2 separate regions of the Homo sapiens genome follow, and region 1 is linked to region 2. The links are contacts of gene promoters, found by promoter capture Hi-C in human tissues and cell types (Jung and others, 2019). All regions are on one chromosome and are shown on one strand. The core of a region is centred on a gene start or on the middle of the fragment in contact, and the rest is flanking DNA. Distances in the headings are between cores, read along the strand shown.

The links. The method cuts DNA at HindIII sites, captures the fragments that hold promoters and counts their contacts. A contact is called where the count stands out against the background at its distance.
Region 1: the fragment with the promoter of COLGALT1 here is called in contact with the fragment with the promoter of RAB3A in region 2 in 1 of the 25 tissues and cell types used here (spleen).

Annotation. Positions count from the first base shown.
Region 1 is chr19:17,552,156-17,558,838 of GRCh38, forward strand. COLGALT1 (collagen beta(1-O)galactosyltransferase 1) reads left to right here and starts at 3,494. Exons shown (of 12, transcript NM_024656.4): 1 at 3,494-3,818. The coding sequence starts at 3,559. NIBAN3 (niban apoptosis regulator 3) reads left to right here. Exons shown (of 15, transcript NM_001321827.2): 15 at 1-1,485. RefSeq lists a silencer at 3,572-3,661. The HindIII fragment of the contact is 12,267 bases long and covers 1-6,683 here.
Region 2 is chr19:18,202,625-18,209,230 of GRCh38, forward strand. RAB3A (RAB3A, member RAS oncogene family) reads right to left here and starts at 1,418. Exons shown (of 5, transcript NM_002866.5): 1 at 1,272-1,418; 2 at 1-116. The coding sequence starts at 116. LOC102725254 (a long non-coding RNA gene) reads left to right here and starts at 2,106. Exons shown (of 2, transcript NR_134910.1): 1 at 2,106-2,275; 2 at 2,832-2,939. It overlaps PDE4C (phosphodiesterase 4C), which reads right to left. Exons shown (of 15, transcript NM_001098818.4): 15 at 5,341-6,606. RefSeq lists enhancers at 660-1,442, 1,475-1,769, 1,955-2,054 and silencers at 1,435-1,824, 2,710-2,769. The HindIII fragment of the contact is 10,728 bases long and covers 1-5,468 here.

The sequences.
Region 1 (6,683 bases), core at 2,244-4,743, 650 kb before region 2:
GCAACCTCCGCCTCCCGGGTTCAAGCGATTCTCCTGCCTCAGCCTCCCGAGTAGCTGAGATTTCAGGCACCCGCCACCATGCCTGGTTAATTTTTGTGTTTTTAGTAGAGATGGGGTTTCACCATGTTGGCCAGGCTGGTCTCGAACTCCTGTCCTTAAGTGATCTGCCCCCCTCAGCCTCCCAAAGTGCTGGGATTACAGGTGTGAGCCACCACACGTGGCCTAATTTTTTTTTTTTAAATAATAGAGACAAGGTCTCGCTATGCTGCCCAGGCTGATCTCAAACTCCTGGACTCAAGCAATCCTCCTGCCTTGGCCTCCCAAAGTGCTAGGATTATAGGAGTGATCCACTATGTCCAGCCTCCAAATCCTTTCTAAACACTAGGACTTTTCATGAAAAGAAAAAAGCTATGCCAGTTAGACACACACAGAAATCTCATGATTTTATTTTGAATTTCTTTGACTAAATTGAACTTACAAATAAGTTTATTATGGCCAGGCGTGGCAGTGCACACCTGTAATCCCAGCACTTTGGGAGGCTGAGGCGGGCAGATCACTTGAGCTCAGGAGTTCAAGACCAGCCTGGCGAACATAGTGAGACCTCATCTCTACAAAAAATACAAAATTAGCGGCCGGGAGTGGTGGCTCACGCCTGTCATCCCAGCACTTTGGGAGGCTGAGACAGGTGGATTGCTTGAGCCAAGGAGTTTTGAGGCCAGCTTGGGCAATGTGGTGAAACCTGTCTCTACTAAAAAATAAAATAAATAAATAAATAAATAAATAAATAAATAAATAAATAAAATTTAAAAGAAGCTGGGCTGAGATGGGAGATTTACCTGAGCCTGGGAACTCAAGGCTGCAGTGAGTGGTGATTGCACCACTGCACTCCAGCCTGGGTGATGGGAGTGAGACCCTGTCTCAAAAAACAAAATCCAAATATGTTGATTAGCCATTTACATGTTTGTAGTTTTTTTTTTTTTAATTTCAGTGAATTGCCTGTTCATAGCTTTTTTCTACTTTTCAGGAGTGTTTGCATTTTTCTTATTGATATCTAATAACTCTTTATATCTGAAGGATATGAACGCTTTGTGATACAGGTTACAGATTTTGGGGTTTTTTTCTCCGCTTGCTGTGAGCCTTTTGGGTTTGTTTCCTAGCTCCAAATCTTAACTTGGTGTCAAGTTTCCTGGCTGGGAGACAAGCTTTTACCGACTTCCTCTGCTTGCCAGCAAAGTCATCTGCTAACTGGATATTGGCAGCTTCTCTGCTGTCTTGCAGCTGCTTCCGGAGTGGGTTCCACAGGGATTCCCGTGTGTTCTTGGTTCAGCTTGCAGAGGGACTTTCACACTCCCTGGAGACCGTTTCCTCCCATTCTGTCTGGAGTTTTCGGCCTACCCCAAGACAATGAGATATTCCTGACCTTTCCACCTATTTCCCTCCAACCCCACCTTCCGAAATACATTTGCTCAATACATTTGCACTTCATAGGCTTCTTTAGCTGTCTTCCTTTTACCCCGGACGGGATGTAGATGTTAATTCTGGAACAATTGCAGCTACAAGAATTTGTCATCCTGCCCCTTTTGAGAAAAACATTGTTTGCCCTTGGGTCTAAATCCTTCCAGATGGGATGGGATGTATCTTGTCACCTCCTTTTTCTTACTTAATATGAAAAGACCTTTCCTCATCAAGTCCACAGAGTGTAAATTTGTTTTTACCTTTTTTTTTTTTTTTTTGAGACGGTGTCTCACTCTGTCACCCAGGCTGGAATGCAGTGGTGCGATTTTGGCTCACTGCAACCTCCACCTCCTGGGTTCAAGTGATTCTCCTGCCTCGGCCTCCGTAGTAGCTGGGATTACAGGCGAAGCGCCACCATGACCGGCTAATTTTTTGTGTTTTTAGAAGAGATGGGGGCTTCACCATATTGACCAAGCTGGTCTCGAACTCCTGACCTCAAGTGATCCGCCTGCCTCAGCCTCCCAAAATGCTGGGATTACAGGCGTGAGCCACTGCACCTGGCCTGTATCATTCTTAAAAATTAAGTTTTAGCGGGGCATGATGGCTCACTGGTAATCCCAGCAGTTTGGGAGGCTGAAGGGGGAGGATTACTTGAGACCAGGAGTTTGAGAACAGCCGGGGCAACATAGCGAGACTCCATCTCTACAAAAAATTTAAAAATTAGCTGGGCGTGGTTGAGTGCACTTGTAGTCCCAGCTACTTGGGAGGCTGAGGCAGGAGGATCAGTTGAGCCCAGGAGGTTGAGGCTGCAGTGAGCCATGATCATGTGATCATGCCACTGCACTCTAGCCTGAGCCACAGAGTAAGACCCTCTCTGTGAAAATAATAATAAGCTGGGCGCGGTGGCTCACGCCTGTAATCCCAGCACTTTGGGAGGCTGAGGTGGGCGGATCAGGAGGTCAGGAGTTCGAGACCAGCCTGGCCAATATGGTGAAACCCCATCTCTACTATAAACAAAAATTAGCCGGGCGTGGTGGCGCGTGCCTGTAGTCCCAGCTACTCAGGAGGCTGAAGCAGGAGAATCGCTTGAACCCGGGAGGCGGAGGTTGCAGTGAGCCGAGATCGCGCCACTGTACTCTAGCCGGGGCAATGGAGTGAGACGCTGTCTCAAAAAAAAAAAAAAAGAAAATAATAATAATAATAATAATAATGTTCAGATGTATTTTTTAAAGTTTTTATTGTTTTTAAAAATAGAGGCACGGTCTTGCTATGTTGCACCACTGCACTCCAGCCCGGGCAACAAAGCCAGACTCCGTCTCAAAAAAAAAAAAAAAAAAGTGTGATACTAAGTCAATCAATTTGAAAATGCGGCTCTAGAGTATTGGAAAACAATCCCTTGACAGCGTTTCCATGAAAACATGGCCCTTGTCTCTGGAAGAGCTTGTGCCCAGAACGGTCCATTATCATGCCCTGGCTCTATTTTCACGCCAACCCTATAGGGTCTCTATGATCTCATTTTATAGATGGACAGACTGAGGCTCACATATAGCAAGCCCAAGGCGGGGACTGAATGTGACGCCAGGTCTGTGGACGTCATGACCTTTATTCTCCACAACCCTCAATGACATCCCTGTGAGATCCAAAACCAGGATGGCAAAACCCACGTTGCAGCAGAGGAAACTGAGGCTAAGGTCTCTTGGGTCCCAAACCAGGTCCTAAGTAGCCAAGTCCGCCTGGTGGCACAGCCCGGGTTTTATACATGGGGAAATTGGGCGGCGCATCTGGCGGAGGTCTCAGTGGTAGGAGGCGCCTGGAGGAAGCGCGGGTTCCTAACCCTAACGCTACCCCTAACATCCCTTCCACGCGCTCCGAGCGCTATGTGCCTTTAAGATCGGTGCGGGGGCGGGGCGTCCTGGGTAGGGCTGCAGGTGACGTCACTCCGGGCCTTGGGACTCGGAGAGCGTCTGGAGGCGGGGCCTGGACTTCACGCCCGGCGCGCTCCTCCCCTTTAAGGCGCGCGGCCGGGCGGGGCCCCTATGACCCCTTTAAGGCGCGGCCAGAGTCCTCCCGCAGAAAAACGACTTAAAGGAGACGCGTGGCGCGATGGCGGCGGCCCCACGCGCGGGCCGGCGGCGCGGGCAGCCGCTCCTGGCGCTGCTGCTTCTGCTGCTGGCGCCACTGCCGCCGGGGGCCCCGCCGGGCGCCGACGCCTACTTCCCCGAGGAGCGCTGGAGCCCGGAGTCGCCCCTGCAGGCGCCGCGCGTGCTCATCGCGCTGTTGGCGCGAAACGCGGCCCACGCGTTGCCCACCACGCTGGGCGCACTCGAGCGGCTGCGGCACCCGCGGGAGCGCACGGCGCTATGGTGAGTCGAGCCCGCTGTCCCCATCAGGCGGGTCACGCGAGCCCCTGCTTGCTGTCCCCATAGGGGTGGGTCCACGCGAGCCCCTGCCCGCTGTCCTCTTCTGGGCGGGTCCGCGCGTGCTTCCTGCTCGCTACCCCCATCGGGACGGTTCTACGCATGCCCCTGCCCGCTGCCCCCATCGGGACGGGTCCACGCGTGCCCCCTGCCTGCTGTCCTCCCATGGGGCCAGACACAGCCCTCCCCACAACACAAGCGGGACCGAGTTCCTCCTGCTGGCTCCTTTGGGGTGGGCTGGGCACCGCTTCTGCCTGCTGGACCCTACTAGGGCAGCTCCGGCCTCACTAACTGGGGCTCTAACTCCCTCTGGGGCACGTACACCTCCAAAGGACGGAGCCCAGAGCCCCCACTGGGGCGTTGCCAGAGGCCACATCTAACAGCAAGCCTTTCTGTGCCGGCTGCTGCCCTTAAGCTTGAACTCAGCCTGGCTCCAGGCCCCAGTCAAACCCCTGCCCTCAGACCGGCGTGGGTGGAGTCCAGGACCAGATGGCCCAGGAGGAAGTGGATGCTTTCTTGGTAGGGAATGGGGCAGAGCTCTGAAGAAACCTTTGACTGGTGACTTCTCACTCCCTGCCTCAGTTTTCTCAAATGGAAAATGGGTCCGGGTGCAGTGGCTCACGCAGTAATCCTAGCAATTTGGGAGGCCAAGGTAAGCGGGTCACTTGAGCTCAGGAGTTCGACACCAGCCTTGCCAACATGGCAAAACCCCGTCTCTAGAAAAAAAATACAAAAATTAGCCAGGTGCGGTGGTGTGTGCCTGTAGTCCCAGCTATTCAGGAGGCTGACGCAGGAGAATCGCTTGAGCCCAGGAGTTCGAGGCTGCAGTGACCTATGATTGCACCACTGCACTCCAGCCTGGGCTACAGAGTAAGACCTGCCTCTAAAAAAAGAAAAAGAAAAGAAAATGAGCGTATTAATATAATTCTCTTTTTGGGTTTGTCTCTGAAGATTATCCAGTTAATGGATGTGGAGCCCTTGGGTCTGGCATGGGCTTGGCTCTCAGTGATTTTATTATCATGATTACTGTCATTGCTGGTGTTATTGTCAACTTAATTTATTGGGCAGAATTAGCTTTTGGCACTACGGTCAAACTAAACTCCCAAATGTCGCTTTTCCTTCCACCTGATTTCTCAGTCTGGATAATCCAAATACACAATTGGTACTTAACAAATGTTTGTTGAATGAATAATTGACTGCAGCCCACTGAAGTGGTGTGGCTCACAGGAGAAGATGAAGGCAGGGTAAGGGATTTATGAGATATACTTTGAGATATACTTTTTTTTTTCTCTCAGACGGAATCTTGCTCTGTCGCCCAGGCTGGAGTACAGTGACACGATCTCAGCTCATTGCAACCTCCGCCTCCGGGTTCAAGTGATTCTCCTGCCTCAGCCTCCCGAGTAGCTTGGGATTACAGGTGCGCACCACCATGCCTGGCTAATTTTTGTATTTTTAATAGAGTCAGGGTTTCACCATTGTGGCCAGGCTTGTGTTGATCTCCTGACCTCATGATCTGCCTGCCTCGGCCTCCCTAAGTGCTGGGATTACAGGCATGAGCCACAGCGCCCTGCTGAGATATACTTTTTTTTTTGATACAGGGTTTTACATCTGTCGCCCAGGCGGGAGTGCAGTGGTGCAATCCTAGCTCACTGCAACTTCCCCCTCCTGGGCTCAAGTGATTCTCCTGCCTCAGCTTCTTGAGTAACTGGGACTACAGGCGTATGCCACTGCGCCCAGCTAATTTTTGTATTTTTTCTAGAGATGGGGTTTTGCCCTATTGGCCAGGCTGGTCTCGAACTCCCGAGCTCAAGTGACCTGCCCACCTCGGCCTCCCAACATATTGGGATTACAGGCGTGAGCCATTGCACCCAGCTGGTTTCTGATATATACATTTCATTTTTTAATATTTTTTATTTATTTATTTTTTGAGACTGAGTCTCGCTCTCGTTGCTGAGGCTGGAGTGCAGTGGCACGATCTCGGCTCACTGCAACCTCCTCCTCCCAGGTTCAAGCGATTCTCCTGCCTCGGCCTCCTGAGTAGCTGGGATTACAGGTGCCCGCCACCACACCCAGCTAATTTTTTGTGTTTTTAGTAGAGATGGGATTTCACCATGTTGGCCAGGCTAGGCTCAAACTCCTGGCCTCAAGTGATTCACCCGCCTCGGCCTCCCAAAGTGCTGGAATTACAAGCGTGAGCCACCATGCCCGGCCTAATTTTTGTATTTTTAGTAGAGATGGGGTTTCGCCATGTTGGCCAGGCTGGTCTCAAACTCCTGACCTCAGGTGATACACCCGCCTCGGCCTCTCAAAGTGCTGGGATGACAGGCGTGAGCCACCGTGCCTGGCCTGATCTATACATTACAAAAATTGCCGTGTGCGGTGGCTCATTCCTGTCATCCCAGCACTTTGGGAGGCTGAGGCAGGTGGATCACCTGAGGTCAGGAGTTCGAGAGCAGCCTGGCCAACATGGCGAAACCCCATCTCTACTAAAAATGCAAAAATTAGCTGGGCATGGTGGTGGGCACCTGTAATCCCAGCTACTCGGGAGGCTGAGGCAGGAGAATTGCTTGGACCTGGTAGGCGGAGATTGCAGTGAACCAAGATTGTGCCACTGCACTCTAGCCTGGGTGACAGAGCAAGACTCTGTCTCAAAAGAAAAAAAAAATTAAGTGACACATATTTGTTAGTGAATGTGGTTTGCAAGATCTTAGATGCTCAGTAATAAAACAGCCAATCACTAATGGGTCTTTCCAAAATCAGCTTGTTTAATCCTTCCACTTCCCAGTAAACTGGGTCCTGTTCCCACCCCCA
Region 2 (6,606 bases), core at 168-2,667:
AGGAAGGACGTCTTGCCCACGCTGCTGTTGCCGATGATGAGAATCTTGAACATGTAGTCGAAGTTCTGATCCGAGGACTCCTTCTGCCCATAGCGCGAGTCTGTGGCGGATGCCATCTGGGGATACCGGGTGTAGCAGAGCCGTGAGGGGGGCTCTCTCCATCCTCATGTGCCCAAGCCCAGGCAGAAGATGGCAAGGGCTCCAGAAAACGGCCGGTGTATGGAGGACACCCTTATCCCATCAGGAGCCCCAGTATTAATTGGTGGTGCCCCCAGCAGAGGGCAGCCTGTGACCTTGAAATCCTGGGCGTTTCAGAGGAGGGGCTCAGAGGGTTGCCGATGGGGACACCCCAGCAGCCCCCTTCAAGGGGCAGGTGCCCCAGGTGGGGCTGTAACCCTAAACCCAGGGCTGAGCCCGGAGGGGGTGACTGCGGCTGGCTCCGCCCCCCATCAATCTTTCATGGTCCTCAGAACCCGGCCGCGCGGCCCCACGTGCACCGCGTGCATGGTCCCTCGAGGACGCGCATCTGCAGCCCCCGCTCCCCGCAAACCTCCAGGCCGGAGAGCTCCGGCCAAGGCCGCTGCATCACATGATACAGGAGGGGCATGCACACGCTCACGTGCACACAGCCTCAAACACGCTCATCCGTACATACAGGAGTGTGTGAACGCACTGAGGTGCACAGGACAAAGACACAGACACCTGTTTGCACACCGACTCGCCTATAGAAATGTGCAAACCACCCGTGCGCACAGGCCCCTCCACCCATGCAGGCGTGTGCACATCACCCACACGGACACGGATCCCCGTGCTTGTATGCACGGGCCATACCTGCACAGGCGGTCCACACGTCTTTCTCCACGCGCGTGCAACGCTCACACACTTAGGCCCAGACCCCCACGGCGTCACACGAGCATATCCAGGTACACAAGCAAGGGTGCACACAGACCCGCTGACACAGGCAGGCGCGCACACGCGTGTGCACACCACGCGCACGCGCACGCAAAAGCCTCCCGCGCGCACAGCTTCCCGCAAGGAGCTCGGCTCCCCTCCCCCTCCGCCGCAGAGCAGGGGGGTTGGGGGGGTTAGTGGTGAGGATCAGGCAGGAGTGGGGCGCCCGGGCCCTACCCATTCCCAGCCTCGCGACCGCCGCATCCTTCCCCCCATTCAACCCTAGTCAACCTCGTCCCCCACCTCCATCAGCCCATCAGTCAAATGAAGGTTATGCAGGTGCTCGGAGCCTGAGCACACCCGGCCGCCCAGGAGCTCACCTTGCCCTGCACCGATGCAACGGCGACCCTAGCGGCGGTGACTTTTTTGGCGGTGGCGGTGACAGGACCCCGGTGCGTTGATGTGGGGCTGCGCGGCGGCGGCGGCAGCAGCGGCTCAGGCCCCTGCAGTCCTCCGTGACGTCCTGCAAAGGGAGGGGCGGAGCCTCACATGTAGATAAGTCCGTGACGCCATCCGGAGGCGGAGCCGCGCGTAGAGATGTGGCCCATTGACGCACGCAGAGCCAGATGGGGCAGGGCTCCTGAGCAGATTGACGTGCAAATGGGGCGGGGCCTAGCGTGTGCATCCAGTAGGGGCGGGAGCGGCGCGGGGGCCGACTCCGCCTCTCGTCCGCCTCCTGTCCGCCTCGGGGAGGCGGGGCCCCTCAGCGTTCTCTCACTGGCTTAAGCTCTCGAGCGACGGGCGAAGTAGCCAATCAGAGATTGTCTACGCCCTCCTCTTGTCCAATGGTGGCATCTGGGAGATTGAAGGGCCGAGAGGCTGAGGCCTTGGCTGAGCCCCGGTCTTCGAGGGGCGGTTCCCTTACCCGCCCGCACCCACCCCAGGTAGGGGACTCTTGAGGCCACCGTCTAGTCCAAGGTGCTGTGACCCCTGTTAAATGCCCCTGACTCCCAATTGCAGAAAAGAAAAATCGAGGCCCAAGAGATGTTTTATACCCTCACATATATGGGGTTCAAAATAAATACCAAAGAATAAACAGGAGTCAAGAGGGACCCCTGTCCCATTCCCGAGGCGTAAGACCCCCCCACTGAGGGAGGGGCTAGTAAAGACTCCACCCCTCCCCCGTTTCTGAGGTTTGAAAAGAAAGAAGTAGAGGTCAAGAGAGCCTCCCCTCCCCACCATTCCCAGAAAAGGAGGAAGGGGCTGATGGACTCTCTGGGAACCCCCTCCCCTCCCTGCGCCCCGTCATCAAGAAGAAAATTCGAAGAAAAGGTTTAGCAGGGACAGAGAAGCGACCTGTCCCGGAAACCCCTTAAAGCCTGCGGTAAATGCCCCGGGAAACAGGGAGGGCACGAGCCGAAGCCTCCAGCTCTTCAAAGCTCGGATTCAAAGACCCGGGGGCTGGGAGACCCCCTCCCTCCATCCTGGGAAAGCAAAACTCAGAGGATGGAGCCTTTTGGGAGCTAAGATGGTCCATCTTTTATTCCTCCAAATCTTTAGGGAAGGAAGTCAGAATTTGGGGAGGGAGGAGGAGCCCGAAACCCCAGCCCCCACTTTGGGTCTCCTGCTCCCCCTACTCCAGCTTTCAAACCCTCCAGGGGTGTGTGGCCCCCAGGAGAGTCCTGATCCCCTAGATTCTCCCCCCACCCCTCCCAGTAGGCGGGGCTGGAGCGTGTGTGTGTGGCGGGGGGTGACTCGTCCTGTTTATAAAAAGCTCGCCAGCTGCGGAGGCGCCGAGAGACCAGAATAACTTAGCGCCTCGAGGCCCAGCCGCCGCCAACCCAGTCCCCAGCCCGCCCCCAGTGCCCTGGGAGTACTGGGACGCCCACCCCCACGTCCCCGCACCGTTTACATTTGGGAAATTTATTTTTTCTTTTTAGGGTAACATGTTTGCTCCCTCCTCCCCCACTCGGACTATAGAAGTATCACCAATCCACTGCAGAGAAATTGGGAAAATTCAGAAAAACAAAAAATAAAAAGAAATCCACCTCCCATTCTCCCTGCCCTCCGCGCCCACGCGGTAGTCCGTGCTCTGTGGGGGGCTCCAGGGCAGCTGGTCCAGGCCCTGGCCTGCCGCCTCCTTGGAGGGGAGGTTTTTCGGTTGCTCAGCTCCCTGATCGCCCAAAGGCACGCTTCCTACATGGGTGGCTCTCTCGGAAATACCTCCTGCCTTTTTTCCCCAGGAAGAGAAAAGTGAGCCACGAGAATGTGCGGAAGCTTCCGTCACTGACTTAGTATTTTAAAGTAAAAATAGCCGGGTGCGGAGGCTTACGCCTGTAATCCCACCACTTTGGGAGACCAAGGCGGGAGGATCGCTTGAGCCCAGGAATTGGAAACCAGCCTGAGTAACATAGGGAGGCCCCATCTCTACAAAAAATTTAAAAATTAGCTGGATGTGGTGTCGCGTGCTTGTGGACCCAAATACTCCCGAGGCTGAAGTAGGAGGATCACTTGAGCTCAGGAGGTCGAGGCTGTAGGAAACCGTATCGCGCCACTACACTCCAGCCTGGACGACAGAGTGAGACGCTGTCTCAAAAAATTAATTACTTAATTTAAATTTAAAAAGAATGCAAGCCCTTGATTGTCCAGAGCAGCATTGGGCTCTGGAATTAGAAATGGTTGAGCTGGGGGAGGGGCTGCGGGATTGGGGTATTTTCTTTGTGTCAGGGGAGACAGAGCTGGTGGGAGAACGGGCTAGGCTTCCAGGCCGGTCCCACTCAGAGGAAAGTCCAGAGGCTTCCCTGCATCCCTACCCTATCGTCTACACTAGACAAATAAAAATAAAAATGTGGCCAGGTGCGGTGGTTTATGCCTGTAATACCAGCACTTTGGGAGGCCGAGTCAGGAGGATCACTCCTTGACCTTGAGGTCAGGAGTTCGAGACCAGCCTGGCCAACATGGTGAAACCCCATCTCTGCTAAAAATACAAAAATTAGCCCGGTGTGGTGGTGCCTGTCCCAGGAGGCTGCTCAGGAGGCCCAGGCATGAGAATCGCATGAACCAGGGAGGCGGAGGTTGCAGTGAGCTGAGATCACCGGCACCACTGCACGCCAGCCTAGGTGCTAGAGGGAGACTCTGTCTCAAGAAAAAAAAAAAAAAGTATCCCAGATACGGGTCCAGGGACGACTTCTCGGGGAAGAAGACACTAACTTAAAACCCAGTGTGGGGGCCAGGTGTGGTGGCTCATGCCTGTAATCCCAGCACTTTGGGAGGCCGAGGTGGGTGGATCACCTGAGGTCAGAAGTTCAAGACCAGCGTGGTCAACATGGTGAAACCCCATTTCTACTAAATATTAGCCGGGCATGGTGGCGGTCGCCTGTAATCCCTGCTACTTGGGAGGCTGAGGCAGGAGAATCGCTTGAACCCGGGAGGCAGAGGTTGCAGTGAGCCAAGATCACGCCATTGTCCTCCAGCCTGGGCAACAAGAGCGAAACTTTGTCTAAAACAAAAATAAAAACAAAAATCTAATGGGTGAGGCTGGGGGCTGAGAGAGAAGCATTCCAGGTAGTGGGAACAGCTTGTTTGAAGGCCCTGTGGTGGGACCAGGCTTGCAGTGTGGCCAGAGCAGATGCAGTCAGTAAGAGGAGAGGGACAAATGCCTTTGGCTCAAACTGAAGGAGAACATATGAATATTCATTTATAAGAAATATGAATATTCTAGGGCTGGGTGCAGTGGCTCATGCCTGTAATCCCAGCACTTTGGGAGGCCGAGGCAGGCGGATCATGAGGTCAGGAGTTCAAGACCAGCCTGGCCAACATGGTGAAAACCCAGTCTCTACTAAAAATACAAAAATTAGCTGGGCATGGTGGTGGGCACCTGTAATCCCAGCTACTCAGGAGACTGAGGCAGGAGAATCGTTTGAACCCAGGAGGCGGAGGTTGCAGTTAGCCAAGATCACACCATTGCACTCCCGCCTGGGCGACAAGGCGAGACGCAAAGAAAGAAAGAAAGAGAAAGGGAAAAGGAAAGAAAAGAAAGACAGAGAAAGAAAGAAAAGAAAAGAAAGAAAAAAATATGAATTTTTTTTTTTTTTTTGAGACAGTCTCGCTCTGTCACCCAGGCTAGAGTGCAGTGGCTCGATCTTGGCTCACTGCAAGCTCCGCCTCCCGGGTTCAGGCCATTCTCCTGCCTCAGCCTCCCGAGTAGCTGGGACTACAGGCGCCTGCAACCACGCCCGGCTAATTTTTTGTATTTTTAGTAGAGACGGGGTTTCACTGTTAGCCAGGACGGTCTCGATCTCCTGACCTCGTGATCCGCCCGCCTCGGCCTCCCAAAGTGCTGGGATTACAGGCGTGAGCCACCGCGCCCAGCCAAAAATATGAATATCTTATAACAGATGGAGAAAAACTAGAGGGAAATAAGTCAAAATACTGCAGATAATCCATGGGTGGAGATACAGCAGAATTTTATTTCCTTCTTTATACATTTCCATTATTTCCAAATTTTTTACAGCGAACATGGTATTACTTTGTAAGCGGACTGGGGGGAAAAATCTTGAAAAAAAAATTCCCTAAATATCTTCTTTTTAAAAGTCTGGAAGGAAATGCACCAAGTTCGTGAACCCGGATGACTTTTAGTTCTGGCACTGTGGAATTTTATCATTAACTGTGATGATGATGAATTCTGAGTGGTTATAATATTTATGAACGAAGCCAGCTGCTCTGGAAGCCGAGGGCGGCTGTGATGACGCCTGTATCTTGTATAAATATTCAGGCACGCGAAGAGGGAGGCAGAGGGGAGGGATGGATACTGAGGCTTCCGGAGGCGGGGATCGAACCCTAGGCTTGAGCATGGTGCTGCCCAGTCCGCTCGGAGGCCCGACCAGCAGGACGAGCTCTTCCCGGCGAGGTGCGGTAAGTGGGACCATCAGGGCTGGAGGATGCCACCCCTCCGACCCACCCCCCAACCCCCGACAAGCGCGCCCCGCCGTGTCTCCCACGCCCGCCACCAGGGGGTGCCGCTGGCTAACATTGGGCGCCCAGATGCTTGACTTTGAGCTGGCAAGAGGACCTCTCTGCGCCTCAGTTTCCTCATCAGTGAAATGGCCAGGACACTCAATTTGGTCAATCGAATGTCTTAAGATGTAAAGATTTTATTTAACCCCAGATAAATGCTCAGTACCCCAAATGTCTAAGATATTTCAGGGAGGTCACAGACAACAACCCCCCACACCTCGTCGGAGTTTATCCAAGTACTAGGATCAGGTTACAGAGGGGAAACTGAGGCCCAGAAGAGGCTATGATGGCAAGAAAGCCTCAGGGGCCTCCCTCCCTCTAGGGGGAGTCTGAGGCAGTTTCAGGAATCAGGAGACTTAGAGACCTGCTAGAGAGGGAAAATTGTGTGTTTTTGTTGCTGTCCTAGGGAAGGAGGAACACGTAGGGGACCCAGTATGGAGTTCTGCGGACAGAGAAAGCAGGGGGCTCCTACATCCAGAGACACCAAAGACAGAAAATAAAGCGACTTAAAGCAACAACTGGTGCATAGGTTCAATCAGTCTTCAGAGACATGCCGGGCACAGAGCCCCCTCTTTTTATTGTTGTTGTCGTTGCCCAGGCTGGAGTGCAGTGGCGCGACCTCGGCTCACCACAACCTCCACCTCCCGGGTTCAAGCGATTCTCCTGCCTCAGCCTCTCAAGTAGCTGGGATTACAGGCA